Linked DNA regions of Homo sapiens: all the other regions are linked to region 1. Evidence: promoter capture Hi-C in human tissues and cell types (Jung and others, 2019). All regions are on one chromosome and are shown on one strand. Each heading gives the region's core, a stretch centred on a gene start or on the middle of the fragment in contact. The rest is flanking DNA. Distances are from core to core; before and after follow the strand shown. Region 1 holds the start of FBXO6 (F-box protein 6). Region 2 overlaps MTOR (mechanistic target of rapamycin kinase). Region 3 overlaps LOC105376737 (a long non-coding RNA gene). Region 4 has its middle 61 kb from the start of UBIAD1. Region 5 overlaps LOC105376740 (a long non-coding RNA gene).

The links. Contacts are between HindIII fragments. The study calls those that stand out against the background at their distance.
Region 2: a contact is called between a fragment that was not itself captured here and the fragment with the promoter of FBXO6 in region 1, in 4 of the 25 tissues and cell types used here (dorsolateral prefrontal cortex, heart left ventricle, lymphoblastoid cells and 1 more).
Region 3: a contact is called between a fragment that was not itself captured here and the fragment with the promoter of FBXO6 in region 1, in 1 of the 25 tissues and cell types used here (H1 embryonic stem cells).
Region 4: a fragment that was not itself captured here is called in contact with the fragment with the promoter of FBXO6 in region 1 in 2 of the 25 tissues and cell types used here (mesendoderm cells and neural progenitor cells).
Region 5: a fragment that was not itself captured here is called in contact with the fragment with the promoter of FBXO6 in region 1 in 6 of the 25 tissues and cell types used here (adrenal gland, dorsolateral prefrontal cortex, lymphoblastoid cells and 3 more).

What each region holds. Positions count from the first base shown.
Region 1 is chr1:11,662,849-11,665,541 of GRCh38, reverse strand. It overlaps FBXO6 (F-box protein 6), which reads right to left and starts at 1,342. Exons shown (of 6, transcript NM_018438.6): 1 at 1,287-1,342. It overlaps FBXO44 (F-box protein 44), which reads right to left. Exons shown (of 6, transcript NM_033182.7): 6 at 2,215-2,693. RefSeq lists an enhancer at 767-816 and silencers at 937-1,006, 1,057-1,276. The HindIII fragment of the contact is 9,200 bases long and covers 1-2,693 here.
Region 2 is chr1:11,215,803-11,218,495 of GRCh38, reverse strand. It overlaps MTOR (mechanistic target of rapamycin kinase), which reads left to right. Exons shown (of 58, transcript NM_004958.4): 20 at 2,262-2,348. Among named protein-coding and RNA genes, the nearest start is that of ANGPTL7, 28 kb to the right of the region's middle. The HindIII fragment of the contact is 5,065 bases long and covers 1-2,693 here.
Region 3 is chr1:11,311,449-11,314,141 of GRCh38, reverse strand. LOC105376737 (a long non-coding RNA gene) reads left to right here. Exons shown (of 3, transcript XR_946957.4): 3 at 1,739-2,266. Among named protein-coding and RNA genes, the nearest start is that of UBIAD1, 40 kb to the right of the region's middle. The HindIII fragment of the contact is 9,068 bases long and covers 1-2,693 here.
Region 4 is chr1:11,332,561-11,335,253 of GRCh38, reverse strand. No RefSeq gene overlaps it. Among named protein-coding and RNA genes, the nearest start is that of UBIAD1, 61 kb to the right of the region's middle. RefSeq lists an enhancer at 912-1,414. The HindIII fragment of the contact is 5,983 bases long and covers 1-2,693 here.
Region 5 is chr1:11,376,771-11,379,463 of GRCh38, reverse strand. LOC105376740 (a long non-coding RNA gene) reads right to left here. Exons shown (of 4, transcript XR_946959.3): 4 at 1,928-2,177. Among named protein-coding and RNA genes, the nearest start is that of DISP3, 100 kb to the left of the region's middle. The HindIII fragment of the contact is 5,798 bases long and covers 1-2,693 here.

The DNA.
Region 1 (2,693 bases), core at 93-2,592:
GGCTCACGCCTGTAATCCCAGCACTTTGGGAGGCCGAGGTGGGCGGATCACGAGGTTAGGAGATCGAGACCGTCCTGGCTAACACAGTGAAACTCCATCTCTACTAAAAATACAAAAAATTAGCCGGGCTTGGTTGCAGGTGCCTGTAGTCCCAGCTACTCGAGAAGCAGGTGCCTGTAGTCCCAGCTACTCGGGAGGCTGAGGCAGGAGGACGGCCTGAACCCGGGAGGCGGAGCTTGCAGTGAGCTGAGATCGCGCCACTGCACTCCAGCCTGGGCGACAGAGCGACACTCCGTCTCAAAAAAAAAAAAAAAAAAAAAAAAAAAGAAATTAGCTAGGCCTGGTGGCCCGTGCCTGTAGTCCCAGCTATGCAGGAGGCTGAGGCAGGAGGAACGCTTGAGCCCAGGAAGTCGAGGCTGCAGTGAGCCGTGATCATGCCACTGCACTCCAGCCTGGGTGACAGAGCAAGACTCTGCCATAAATAAATAAATAAATAAATGCTGGCAGCTTCTAAAGGCACTGTCTAGACTCTAGACGAAATAAAAGTCACTGGGCTCCAAGCTAGAGGCATCTAGGCACCAATAGCTTCCCACCGTGGTGACCGAAGTCTGGTCTCTGGCCCAGTCCGCATTTTCTTGCGCCCCTTCCCCCCCCCGGCCCTGGGCATTTTGTGGTGGGGAAGTCCATGCCAGCCCTAGGAAGCCCTCTCACACCGATCGGGGTCCCCAACTGCCCGGCCCGGCGTCTCGTGCTCGCCTTCTCCGCACCCACCCTCCCAGCAAGCTCTAGTGGCATTGTTACTTCACCGGTTTCTCGGAAACAGAAACTGTGGCTGGGGCAAGGCAAGCGCCGGATCTCGCAGGCGTGTGGGGGCCTGGAGGTCCCTTGACAGTTCTCCGAACCCGGCGCCGGCCTCGGGATGTGGCCGGGGTGGAGGCGGCCGCAGAGCCTCCGCCTGGGTGGCCCCGGGGCCAGGCCCCCAGTCGAAGTCCGGGCCCAGCCGCCCGCGCCCCCCACCCCTGGCCGCCCGGACCAGCGCCCGCAGGCTCCGTGAACGCCCAGGCGCCGGAGACCCCGGCTCCCCACTCGCCCGCCGCCCGTCCCCCCGGGGACGCGACCTGGGCGCAGCGGCGGAGCTCCAGGTCGGCCCGAGCCTACGGCCTCGGCTTCGTTGTCGCTGGGCCCCGCCGCCGCGTCACGCGCTGCGCTCGGTCCCCACCCCCGCCCCGGACCCCGCTGCCGTCCCTCTCGGCCCGGCCCCTAACCCTCGCCGCGGGAAGACGAACCTGGGATCCCCAGGGCCCGGGCCCTCGCTGCGGCCTGCGTGTCCTGAAGCTGTCTCCCCCTCCAGGCGGCGGGCGGCTCAGCACCCACACCTGCACCCGCCTCCTACGCAGGGCCGAAGCTCCCGAACGCGCGGCCGCTCCCCGGACCTCCGCACTAGTTCCTTCCTTATGCGGCCCAGGGCTCCACCCTTGACCCGCGGTCCCCTCCCTAGAGGCAGGACCTGACACCCAGTGGGCTCCTTCTTTCCCTAGGGCGTGACCTCCGCAGGCTTCATAGACTCAAAGGTAAAAAACCTGAGGTGCTAGGAGGTGGCTAACGCCTGTGATCCCAGCACTTTGGGAGGCCGAGGTGGGGAGGATCGCTTGAGGTCAGGAGTTCGAGACCAGCCTGGCCAACATGGCAAAAACCCTGTCTCTACTAAATATACAAAAATTAGCCGGGCGTGGTGGCACAGGTCTATAATCCCAGCTCCTCCGGAGGCTGAGGTGGGAGAATCGCTTGAACCTGGGAGGCTGCAGTGAGTGGAGACTGTACCACTGCACTGCAGCCTGGGCGACAGAGCCAGACCTTGTCTCAAAAAATAAAAAACCTCTGAGGTTTTTTATCAGGATTAAGTTCATGAATTTCTTCCATCAGTCAACAAATATTTAGCAAGCACCTTGTTCAGGCAACCACCAAGGGTTGTGCAGGCTGTGTACTGCACAAGGGGACTGGCCCAGGACACATTAATTGCAGTCAGGGCTACATGTTCTCCGTGGAAGGCCGTCCTTTTGCAGTTTGCCATGGGCTGGTGGGTGGTGATCCTGCCCTGGCCAAAGCCCTTATCTAGCTCACCCTTGACTGAGATAGCTAAATGTGAGGAGTACTTATTGAGCACTGGATTATAGTCCATGTTCACACTGCTATAAAGAAATACCCGAGACTGGGTGATTTATAAAAGGAAAGAGGTTTAATTGACTTATAGTTCCATATGGCTGGGGAAGCCTCAAGAAACAATCGCTGGGCGCGGTGGCTCACGCCTGTAATCTCAGCACTTTGGGAGGTCGAGGTGGGTGGATCACGAGGTCAGGAGATTGAGACCACCCTGGCCAACATGGTGAAACTCCATCTCTACTAAAAATACAAACAAAATTAGCCGGGCATGGTGGTGGGCGCCTGTAGTCTCAGCTACTCCAGAGGCTGAGGCAGGTGAATGGCGCGAACCTGGGAGGCAGAGCTTGCAGTGAGCTGAGATTGCGCCACTGCACTCCAGCCTGGGCGACAGAGCGAGACTCCATCTCAAAAAAAAAAAAAAAAAAAAGAAAAGAAAAGAAAAAAGGAACTTACAATCATGGTGGTGGAAGGTGAAGGGGAAGCAACGACCTTCTTCACATGGCGGCAGGAGGGAGCCGGGGAAACCGTCACTT
Region 2 (2,693 bases), core at 144-2,643, 450 kb after region 1:
TGCCTGAAGAACCTTTATATTTAGTCTCATTTTCCTTGATCTTTGTAATAACATTTTTTTTTTTTTGAGATGGAGTCTCGCCCTGTCGCCCAGGTTGGAGTACAATGGTGTGACCTTAGCTCACTGCAACCTCCGCCTTCCGGTTTCAAGCAATTCTCCTGCCTCAGCCTCCCGAGTAGCTGGGATTACAGGCACATGCCACCATGCCCAGCTAAATTTTGTATTTTTAGTAGAGATGGGGTTTCACCATGTTGGCCAGGCTGATCTCAAACTCTTGACCTTGTGATCTGCCCGCCTCAGCCTCCCAAAGTGCTGGGATTACAGGCGTGAACCACCGCGCCCGGCCTGTAATAACATATTTGTATAGGGACCACTATACATATTTGTATGGGGAATCACTACAAAACTGTAGTGATTCAATTTGGGGAATGGTGGGGACCAGGAGATAGGTAGAAATGAGCCTACTGAGTCAAATGTGTGCCACATGGGGACCAGGCTGTAATCACCTTAGAAGTCAAAGTTATCATTAGGGAATATGTTCAAACTCTTCTTTAAGCCCAATCCTGTATGTCCTATCGATCTTGCCTCTTTGGGTAATGAGTACTATAAATCCATTACTCACTGTTTGAGATAGCACTTTTTTTTTTAAGTAATGCTTTTTATTTATTCCAACTTACCCGACTTGCATGTGGATAGGAGTGAAAATACATATGTTCATTTTCTAAATTATCCTTGTTAATGGAGAGAAACAAAGGCAGAGAGAGCTGTAAAAATTTGGGGAAGGGGGCCAGGCGTGGTGGCTCACGACTGTAATCGCAGCACTTTGGGAGGGCAAGGCGGGCGGATCATGAAGTCAAGAGAGCGAGACCATCCTGGCTAACACGGTGAAACCCTGTCTCTACTAAAAAAATACAAAAAAAAAAAAAAATTAGCCGGGCATGGTGGCGGGCGCCTGTAGTCCCAGCTACTCGGGAGGCAGAGGCAGGAGAATGGCTTGAACCCGGGAGGCTTGAACCCGGGAGCTTGCAGTGAGCCGAGATCATGCCACTGTACTCCAGCCTGGGTGACAGAGTGAGACTCTGTCTCAAAAAAAAAAAAATTGGGGGAAGGGGTGTCAAATATTATTTGCTACTTATTACTGGCGTGTAATACTATCTGAAGCTCATAACAAAATAAAACCTACATCTTGAAGACAAATCTTTAACCTGGAAAGTAGTTGAGATTTTCTTTACCCACACCTTCCTTATTCCCAGCTTTATTTAGTGCATGTTTTTTCTTCCTACACCTAAAAGGTACTGACTTCAGTAGAATCTCCTCATCCTATCCCTACCCCAGTTTGCTTGCTTATTTTGGCTCATAATCTCTCAGAGACATAGTTAATTAATTAAGACCTAAGTAATGAGTTAATTACTATAAATGAGCTACAATACCCATAATCAAGAGTTAGCTGTATTTATTTTAGGAAGGAAGTGGTAATTAATTAGAGCCAAATAAACAAAAGGTACATTTACAGTTGGTAAAAACTTTCAGGTTTATTTTTAAGTTTAGTAATTCCAGGAATCCTTCAATGATACAGACATTCATTGAGCACTGAATAGTATTCACGTCCCTGTTCTAGTGCTTGACATGAATTATCCCATTTAAGCCTTAGAAGTCTATGAGGTAAGTATTATTATCTCCATTTTCCCATGGAAGAGCCTGGGCACAGGGAGGTTAAATGAGGGTTACAAAGCCCCTGCTGTGCAGTAACTGGCTCGCCTTGTGTGTAAAAACCTCTGACAATTGTTTTGAGTCCCCACCACTATCACCATTTAAGTTTGTGTCTTTTTTTTTTTTTTTTTTAAGAGACAGGGTCTCACCCTGTCACCCTGCACTCTGTAGAGTGCAGTGGCACGTGCATAGCTCACTACAGCCTTGAACTTCTGGGCTCAAGCATTTCTCCCACCTTAGCATCCAGTAGCTAGAACTACAGGCAAGTGCCCAGCTAATTTTTTGTATTTTTTTTGTAGAGACAGGATCTCGCCATGTTGCCCAGGCTGTTCTTGAAATCTTGGCCTCAAGCAGTCCTCCCGCCTTGGCCTCCCAAAGCACTGAGCCTCCAAACCTAGCCAAGCTTGGGTCTTTGAAATATATTCTCAGTAGATAGTGTAGTGTGGAAACCCATTCCATAGTTGCCTTTATTTGTTCACATGAGCTTAAGGTAAGCCTGGGGGTTCAATGTCCTTCATGATACCAGCTGGTTGACCTCTTGTCCATTTCAGTTTTTGTTCCAGCAGCTGGGAATGTTGGTGTCCTTTGTGAAGAGCCACATCAGACCTTATATGGATGAAATAGTCACCCTCATGAGAGTGAGTAGAAGTTAATGCTTTGGCCTCTTCCATGTTTGGGTCAAGGAAGGCTCAGAAGCAAGTTTGAATGACATAGACTTTTTTTCACGGATCTTTGTAGAGCTGTTACAGTCTTAGTACAGGAAGTGGAACAAAGCCCACTGGATTTTGAGGGGGAGGAAGGGCTGTTGCTCCAGGTTCCCAGGTACAAAACTACAAGGCATGAAGGCTGAAGAGAAATCCTGCAGTAATTGTTCTGCCAGAAATAGACAATTGGGTTATTTGCCTCACACACAACAAAGCAATTTTACTTTAATATCACAAGGGTGCTTTTCTATTTTCATGAAAGCCCTCTTTGTTACTGCT
Region 3 (2,693 bases), core at 76-2,575, 350 kb after region 1:
TTCTGAACATCCTCAGGGGACAAAGTTGCACTGAGGCCTCATGACCTGTGGCCTGGAAAGCCCTCCAGGTATCTAACCTGTGTCTTTCTTGCTGTACCCTGAACTCCAATCCCTGCCTGATGAATGCGGCTCTCTTGCGGAAAGGAAATGTTGCCTAATGTCACAAATGCTATAAATATAAGGTTAACAGCATGGGCTCTGGAGGCAGAGTACTAGGGTTCAGTTCCTAGCTCTGCCACTTGAGAGCTGTGTGTCTTCAGCAAGCCACTTACCCTCCCTGTGCCTCAGTTTCCCCATCTATAAAATGGGAGGCACCTATCCTGCAGAGAGGCTGTAAGGAGTTAGTACTTTTGCCGTGCTCAGTACCAACTTCACACATAGCAAGCACTCCATAAAAGTGGACCCCTACTGTTTCCAGCCTCCCCATGCTCCAGTCACTGCTGAGAGCATCTTCTTTGGAGATGGAAGATGTGGCTATAAGCGGGGCAACAAGGAGAGGGTGGAGGTGGGTGAAGGGTGTGGGATGGTGCACAGTTTGGAGGGTCTACCTTCCTAGACTGATGTTGCCCATCATGATATCTGAAAAGGGGTCCTGGGGACACAGATATCACAACCTTTAGGGGCTGGCCATGTTGGCATCAGACACAGCCACTGCAGGAACCCCTGGCAGCCTGGCTGTCAGCAGTGATTGTCTAGAGTGCAGGGGAAGCTGGGAACAATAATGGGTGACCTTAAGGATGGTATGAGACTTCTGAGACCAGTTCATAAAAAAGCCATGGTAGGGGGCTGGGCACAGTGGCCTCATGCCTGTAATCCCAGCACTTTGGGAGGTTGAGGTAGGAGGATCACTTGAGGTCAGTTCGAGACCAGCCTGGGTAACATAGTGAGACCCCCATCTCTACCAAAGAAAAAACTAAAAATGAGCTAGGTGTGGTGGTGCCCGCCTATAGTCCCAGCTACTTGGGAGGCTGAGGTGGAAGGAGTGCTTGAGCCCAAGAGTTCGAGGCTGCAGTGGGCTATGATCCCACCACTGCACTCCAGCCTGGGTGACAGAGTGAGACCCTATCTCAAAAAAAAAAAAAAAAACAACCATGGCGGCTTTGGCCTGGTTCTTTCTCTTCTGTATCACCCACTCTGGGGAGTGCCAACACGTGGGGAGGCCTGTGCTGAAGGAGCCTAGCACCATGTGAGTTCTATCTTGGAGGTGGGTCCTCCAGCCCCAGCAAGACCCCTGACGACGGTGACCTCAGGAGAGACCCTGAACTCAGCTGCCCACAGGTTCCTGACCCACAGAAACTGGAATATAGAGATGTTTATTGTTGTCTTAAGCTGCTAAGTTTGGGGTAGCTCACTAATCCAGGTGGGAAGGGAGACAGATGGGAGGGCCAGGGTCCCTTCACCCTGCAGCATGGCACTCATGGAACACATCCACGGCTCTGCCCTCCCATCTGCCCTTTTATTCCAGTGAAATCCACTTCTGTGTTCTGCCACCTCCCAACACCCCGACACCCCCGCCCCCGCCCTTCCTGTCTTTTTGTCCTGACTATGCTGCTTTCTCAGTGGCTCCTGGCTGGGGTGAGGGGCTCAGCCCTTCTCACCTCCAGAGCTGGCAGCTGTCGGTCATCTAATAGAGAGATCGCAGAGCAGCTTCTGAGAGCGGCTGTGCAGAGCATGGGAAGCCCTGTAGATCTTAATCCTTTCCCTCTTTAATCTTTCTTCCTCGTTCTTTGGTCCACAGGTTTTCACACGCACTGCAGAGTTTCCAGAGATAAAGCCCCACAACCAGAGATGGCAAAGCACCTCCTTTCTCTGCCTCCAGAGAGGAGAATTCAGCCGAGCAGGAAACTACGGAGTCTCTGATTGGCTTCTGAGAGCTGGAGCAGTTTGTGAGTGTCAGGGACCCAGGAACCTCAGCCCCAGGCTGTCATTCCCTTCGGCTTCTGGCTCAGTCCTGCTGCATCTTATAAGGCCCCTGGGTGAACTAGGGGCTGGGAGGTGGTGCGTTACCCCTAGAGCAGCTGGGCCCACAGGCTCACCAGGCTGAGGGAGTGTGGCCTCACGATCAAGAGCAGGGGATTTTGAGGTCAGACAGGACTGGGAGCAAATCTCAGCCCTGCAGCTTCCTGCTGTGGGACTGTAGATAAATGACTGGGTTTCTCTGGGCCTGCAAAGCTCTCAATAAACAGGAGCAGCCAGCAGCAGGACTGGAGTCCACAGGTGATCTGTCTCTGACCTCAGGTGTCCACAACCATCCTCTCAGAAGACAGGCAAGCAAGGCAGCTCTCCTGCCCCTCAGCACTGGCCACGCTGGGACACAGTGGGACACCAGGACTTTAAGCCATCCTTTAGGCCAAAGAATCCCCACATAACAAATTCATTGTGTGCAATAAAGAACTTGGCTGCACCCCTATCGGGGCGTTTGAGATCCAAATTGCTGCCTTGGCACTTTGGAGACACAGAAAGGAGAAATGAGCTCAGGGTCTCTGGGAAAAGCCCTTTAAACCTGCTTGAGAAATCAGATTTGTCTGGCTGCGGCTCATCTGCCCTCCAGGTCTGGAATAAGGGGAAGGGACTCTGGAGGGCTGTCTGACAGGCATGGAAAGCAGTGGGCAAGGGAGGGCAAGGTTTAGGGAAAGAGGGTGACAGGGTGGCAGGATGGTTCATGCCTGTAATCCTAGCACTTAGGGAGGCTG
Region 4 (2,693 bases), core at 89-2,588, 330 kb after region 1:
AAGACCCTTGGTCATGGAAGTATAACGTGTCCGGGGCCAGAGGACTCAGGACAGAGGATCAGGGCCCAAAGAAGGGATAGGGCTAGGCGGCAGTGAGGCCTAGTGAGAGGCAGGGCTGGGTGAGAAGATAGAGACCAAGCTGGGGCTGTGGCCCGGTGAGGCGGGGAGGGGGCTGGTGGGGGATGGAGGCTTGGAGAGGGGCTCCAGATAGACAGTGGAGACAGGAACCAGGATGGCCACAGACCTGGGCCACTAGGGGCCCTGCTGGGGCATCTTGGTTGGGGGGAGCACGCCAGAGCCTGGGGGGACAGTGGGACCTGCCCGCAGCATCCTCACCGGGCAGCCATCAGGAGCTACTGTGCTGGGGACAGAGGTGTCTCGGGGGGTGTGGCATGTTGCTTCCCCTGAAAATGAGAGTGACTGGGCTCTTTTCTCGCTGGGAGAGAAAGCGGCTCCGCTCTCCTTCTGTCCACAGTTCTGCCAGCTCCTCAATGCCCCCTGCCTGCCCCAGGACAAGGGCAAAGCCAGGTATCTGGTGGGACCAGATTGGGCCTTCCTGCCCACGCCCCGGTCTGCCACCAAGCAGCCTACACCATCTCTGTTCTCTCTCTGCTTCTCCTCCTCCTCCTCCCTCCCATACTCACCTTCACTCCTGTTTCCCAATAACCACCCTCGGAGAAAGGAGTCAGAGGAGTTTGGACAAAGTTCATCCTCCCCAGCCCCAGGGTGCAGACACTTCCCTCTCAGCCACGGCCTCTGTTTGGGGCTGGCCCAGACAAGGGGAGGGGTAAGGGGGACATCCCTCTGGCTGCCTGTAGGGTCCACCCAGCCGGGGAAGAAGCCTCCACGCACGGAGGAGTTGTCCACAGGGAGGGCTGCAGAGCAGACAGAGACCCATTTACAAACCAGGCCAAATTTTTTTTTTTTTTTTTTTTTTTGAGACAGAGTTTCACTCTGTCGCCCAGGCTAGAATGCAGTGGCGCGATCTCGGCTCACTGCAAGCTCCGCCTCCAGGGTTCACACCGTTCTCCTGCCTCAGCCTCCCAAGTAGCTGGGACTACAGACGCCCGCCACCATGCCCGGCTAATTTTTTGTATTTTTTTTTTAGTAGAGGCGGGGTTTCACCGTGTTCACCAGGATGGTCTCGATCTCCTGACCTGGTGATCCGCCCGCCTCGGCCTCCCAAAGTGCTGGGATTACAGGCGTGAGCCACCGTGCCTGGCCTAATTTTCTTTAAAAGTGGCATTCTTGTCTTCTAGAAAATACGATGCCATTTTCCTGGCTTGGTGAGGGGTGAGGGGCATTATCCCATCTCCGCTGCCTCTGCCTCCCTCCCCTTCCCCTCCTGGCAGTGCTACTGCTGTTATTAATAGGAAGCAGCTTCCCGGGGCAGCCACCCAGTACAGGTCATCCATCTCCCTCAGAGCGGCCGTCACCCCCCACGGCTCAGCACCCGAGGAGTGGCACTCAGGCTGGGAGCTCTGACCTCATCCCCACTTCCCTCCCTGCCCCCCTCCTCACCTTCTAGTGTTGGCATAGCAAGGTCCTGGGGCAGGAAGGAGCTAAGCTGCCCAGCAGGGATGCCCCAAGCAAGCCTCCCTCCAACATGAAATGTTCATGCATTCATGCATTCAGCAAACATTTATTGAACACCTATTATGAGGCGCACACTGTTCAGGGCCCCAGAGTCAGAGCAATGACCAGACACAGTCCCTGCCCTCATGGAGCTAACTGACATTCCAGTGGGGGAGACAGATATGAAAAGAATAAACTATAAATAAATGACAAAATCTTAGATTTTAGACTCACAATGTCAAATGCAATGAAGCAATAAAACAGGAAAAGGAGATAGGATGTGCTGGGTTCGGGGGTGGTCAGGAGAAGGCTCTGCACAGAGGTGACATCTGTGCTGAGACCTGAATGATAAGAAGCAGTCAGCCCTTAGATCTGAGACGAGAGCATGCCAGGCAGAGAGAATGGAAGGGCAAAGGTGTGGAGAGAGACCGAGTTCTGGCGGTACAGGGGCAGAAAGGGTCAGTGTGGTAGGGCAGTGGAGGAGATCTTGGGGTGAGAAGAGGCTGGAAAAAGAAGAGAAGGTTAGGTCAGGCATGGGACACAAAGAGAAGCTTGGATTTTTTGTCTTTTTTTTTCCAAGATGGAGTCTCGCTCTGTCACCCAGGCTGGAGTGCAGTGGCACAATCTCGGCTCACTGCAACCTCTACCTCCTGGGTTCAAGTGATTCTCCTGCCTCAGCCTCCCGTGTAGCTGGGATTACAGACGCGCACCACCACACCCTGCTAATTCTTTGTATTTTTAGTAGAGACGGGGTTTCACCATGTTGGCCAGGCTGGTCTCGAACTCCTGACCTCAAATGATCCCCCGCCTCGGCCTCCCAAAGTGCTGGGATTACAGGTGTGAGCCACTGAGCCCAGGCTTTTTTTTTTTTTTTTTTTTTTTTTTTGACACAGGCAGGGTCTCACTCTGTCACCCAGGCTGGAGTCCAATGGCCTGATCATGGCTCACTGCAGCCTTGGCCTACTGGGCTCAAGGGATCCTCTTATGTCCACCTCCCTACTAGCTGGGACTATAGGCACGTGCCACCATGCTCAGCTAATCTTTGTATTTTTTGTAGAGACAGGGTTTCGCCATGTTGCCCAGACCGGTCTTCAACTCCTGGGCTTAAGCAATCCACA
Region 5 (2,693 bases), core at 144-2,643, 290 kb after region 1:
ACTTAAATCGGTGATTAATCACCCCAGCTTTACATGGTCTTCTTCCAATGCACTGAAGGCCCCCAGCAATCACTATCTGGTTTTTTTTTCCCTTTTTTACTTTTATTTTTTGAGACAGGGTCTTGCTCTGTCACTCAGGCTGGAGTGCAGTGGTATGCTCACCACCCACTGCAAACTTGACTTCTTGGGCTCAAGCGATCCTCTTTCCTCAGCCTCCCAAGTAGCTGGGACTACAGATGCACGCCACCACCTTGGCACTATTCACATTTTGGGCCACATAATTCTTTGTCGTAGGAGCTGTAGGATTTTTTTTTTTTTTTTTTTTTGAGACAGCGTTTCCCTCTGTCATCCAGGCTGGAGTGCAGTGGCACAGTCTTGGCTCACTGCAACCTCTGCTTCCCGGGTTCAAGTGATTCTCCCTGCCTCAGCCTCCTGAGTAGCTGGGATTACAGGCACCCGCCACCATGCCCAGCTAATTTTTGTATTTTTGGTAGAGATGGGGTTTCACCATGTTGGCCAGGCTGGTCTCCAACTCTTGACCTCAGGTGATCCACCCAGCTTGGTCTCCCAAAGTGCTGGGATGACAGGCACCCGCCACTATGCCCAGTTAATTTTTGTATTTTTAGTAGAGATGGGATTTAGCCATGTTGGCCAGGCTGGTCTCGAACTCCTGACCGCAGGTGATCTGCTTGCCTCGGCCTCCCAAAGTGTTGGGATTACAGGCGTGAGCCACCGCGCCCGGTCGCATCATAGGATTTTTAACAGCATCGCTGACCTCTACCTCCTGGGTACCAATAGCCATGCCATCCCCCTCCCCCACAATTATGACAACAGAAATGTCTTCAGGCATTCTTGGATGGTTTTTCGTTTGTTTAGTTGGTTTGGGTTGGGTTGCGTTTTTTTGTAGAGGCAGGATCTTGCTAGGTTGCCCAGGCTGGTCTTGAACTTCTGCCCTCAAATGATCCTCCCATCGTGGCCTCACAAAGTGCTGGAATTACAGAGGGGTGAGCCACTGTGCCTGGCCAGCAATCACTATCTGACTCCACAGTTTTTATAATGATTACTTCCCCCAAATCTCTCAAATGGCTGAGATATATCTGCCAATGCATTCCCTTCTGTGGATTTTCCATCCCAGTTCACCATGACTGAGAGTTTTAACAACTGCCCTGCTATAGCACAACAGACCCCTACCTCCCAGGGATGGGGGCCTCATTGCTGGACCCAGCAAGTAACGCAACTCAAAAATCCCATTGAAAAATCTGCTTCCCATGACCTCTTCCAATACTAACTGCCTTCCACCAGAACTCAGCGGTAGGGATTTCTGAAAAGGAGAAAAAGAGCAGAATTAGACAGAGGGAGAAATTGAACTGTGATGCGGTGGCTACAAAGGGCCCAGACAATACTGCAGGGAGCCCTGGGGCTCCGATGAACTTTCAGAGCTGTTTCAAATCAAAGAATCCTATTTGATTCTCAAAACAACTTTACAAGGATGGCACTATCATTATCCTCTATCTATAGACGAGGAAACTGAGCTCAGAGAGGTAAGTGACCTGCCCAGGATCACACAGCTTTGAGGGGTTGAGCTGGGATTTCCACCCAGGTCTTTCACTCTCTAAAGATTCCTTCTAGGCTGGGTGCGGTGGCTCACACCTGTCATCCCGGCACTCTGGAGGCTGAAGCAGCAGGATCCTTGAGGCCAGGATTGAGACCAGCCTGGGCAACATAGGGAGATGCTCACTCTACAGGGTATTTTTTAAATTAGCTAGATGTGGTGGCATGCACCTATAGTCCCAGCTACTCAAGAGGCTGAAGCCGGAGGATCACTTGAGCCCAGGAGTCGGAGGCTACAACGAACTGTAATTGTACCACTGCACTCCAGCCTGGGCAACAGTGCAGGACCCTGTCTTGAAATAATAATAATAATAATTTTAATAAAATAACAAATAAAGCTTCCTTCCAACTTGTCCTCCCCAGTCTCCTAGGGCCTCGGAGTTCTCTGTTGGATCCTCTTCATTCGGCTGGCAGAAAACAGGGCGGCAGACGGGATGTTGCGTAGGAGGTGTCACAGGCCAGGTGTGGGCACGCCAGTCATCACTTCTACCCACATTCCGCTGGCCAGAACTCAGCCAAGTGGCCCAAGGTCGCTGTCTACAAGGGAGGCTAGCAATGTAGTCTAGCTGTGTGCCCAGGAGCAAAGGAGAAATGATTTAGTCCAGTCTCAGCCCTGCCCTGAATATGGGAGTGCTGAGAGCCAGCAGAGCAGACAGAGCCCATCTGTTTCATTAATTTGCTGTTTGTTCTTGGGCTGGGGGTGGAGGAATGCCCACAGGAGCTAATTTAGTTGGCAGCAAAAGGGAGTGAGTTGGGAGGTACCCATGGGTTCTGGTTTATCAGCCCAGGCCCAGGGCACATAAGGAGCAGCCATCTCTGAGGAACACCGGGCCTGAAATCCAGGGGTTCAAGTGCACAGATGGACCTGGGAGGTGGAGGCTGCTATTACTCCGTGGAAGGGAGAAGTGAGGCCAGTTGGTGGGTTAGCGGGATTCACCTGCCCCGAGTGAGCCAGCGAGTCCTGAACAGCTCAGGAAAGAGGTCAGGGGTACCTGACAGCCTCCCTTCTTCTAGGAGTTCCTGTGAGGTGTGTGGAGCCAGGCCTCAGCTCACCCCACTGTAGGCTGCATCCAGATGAGGGG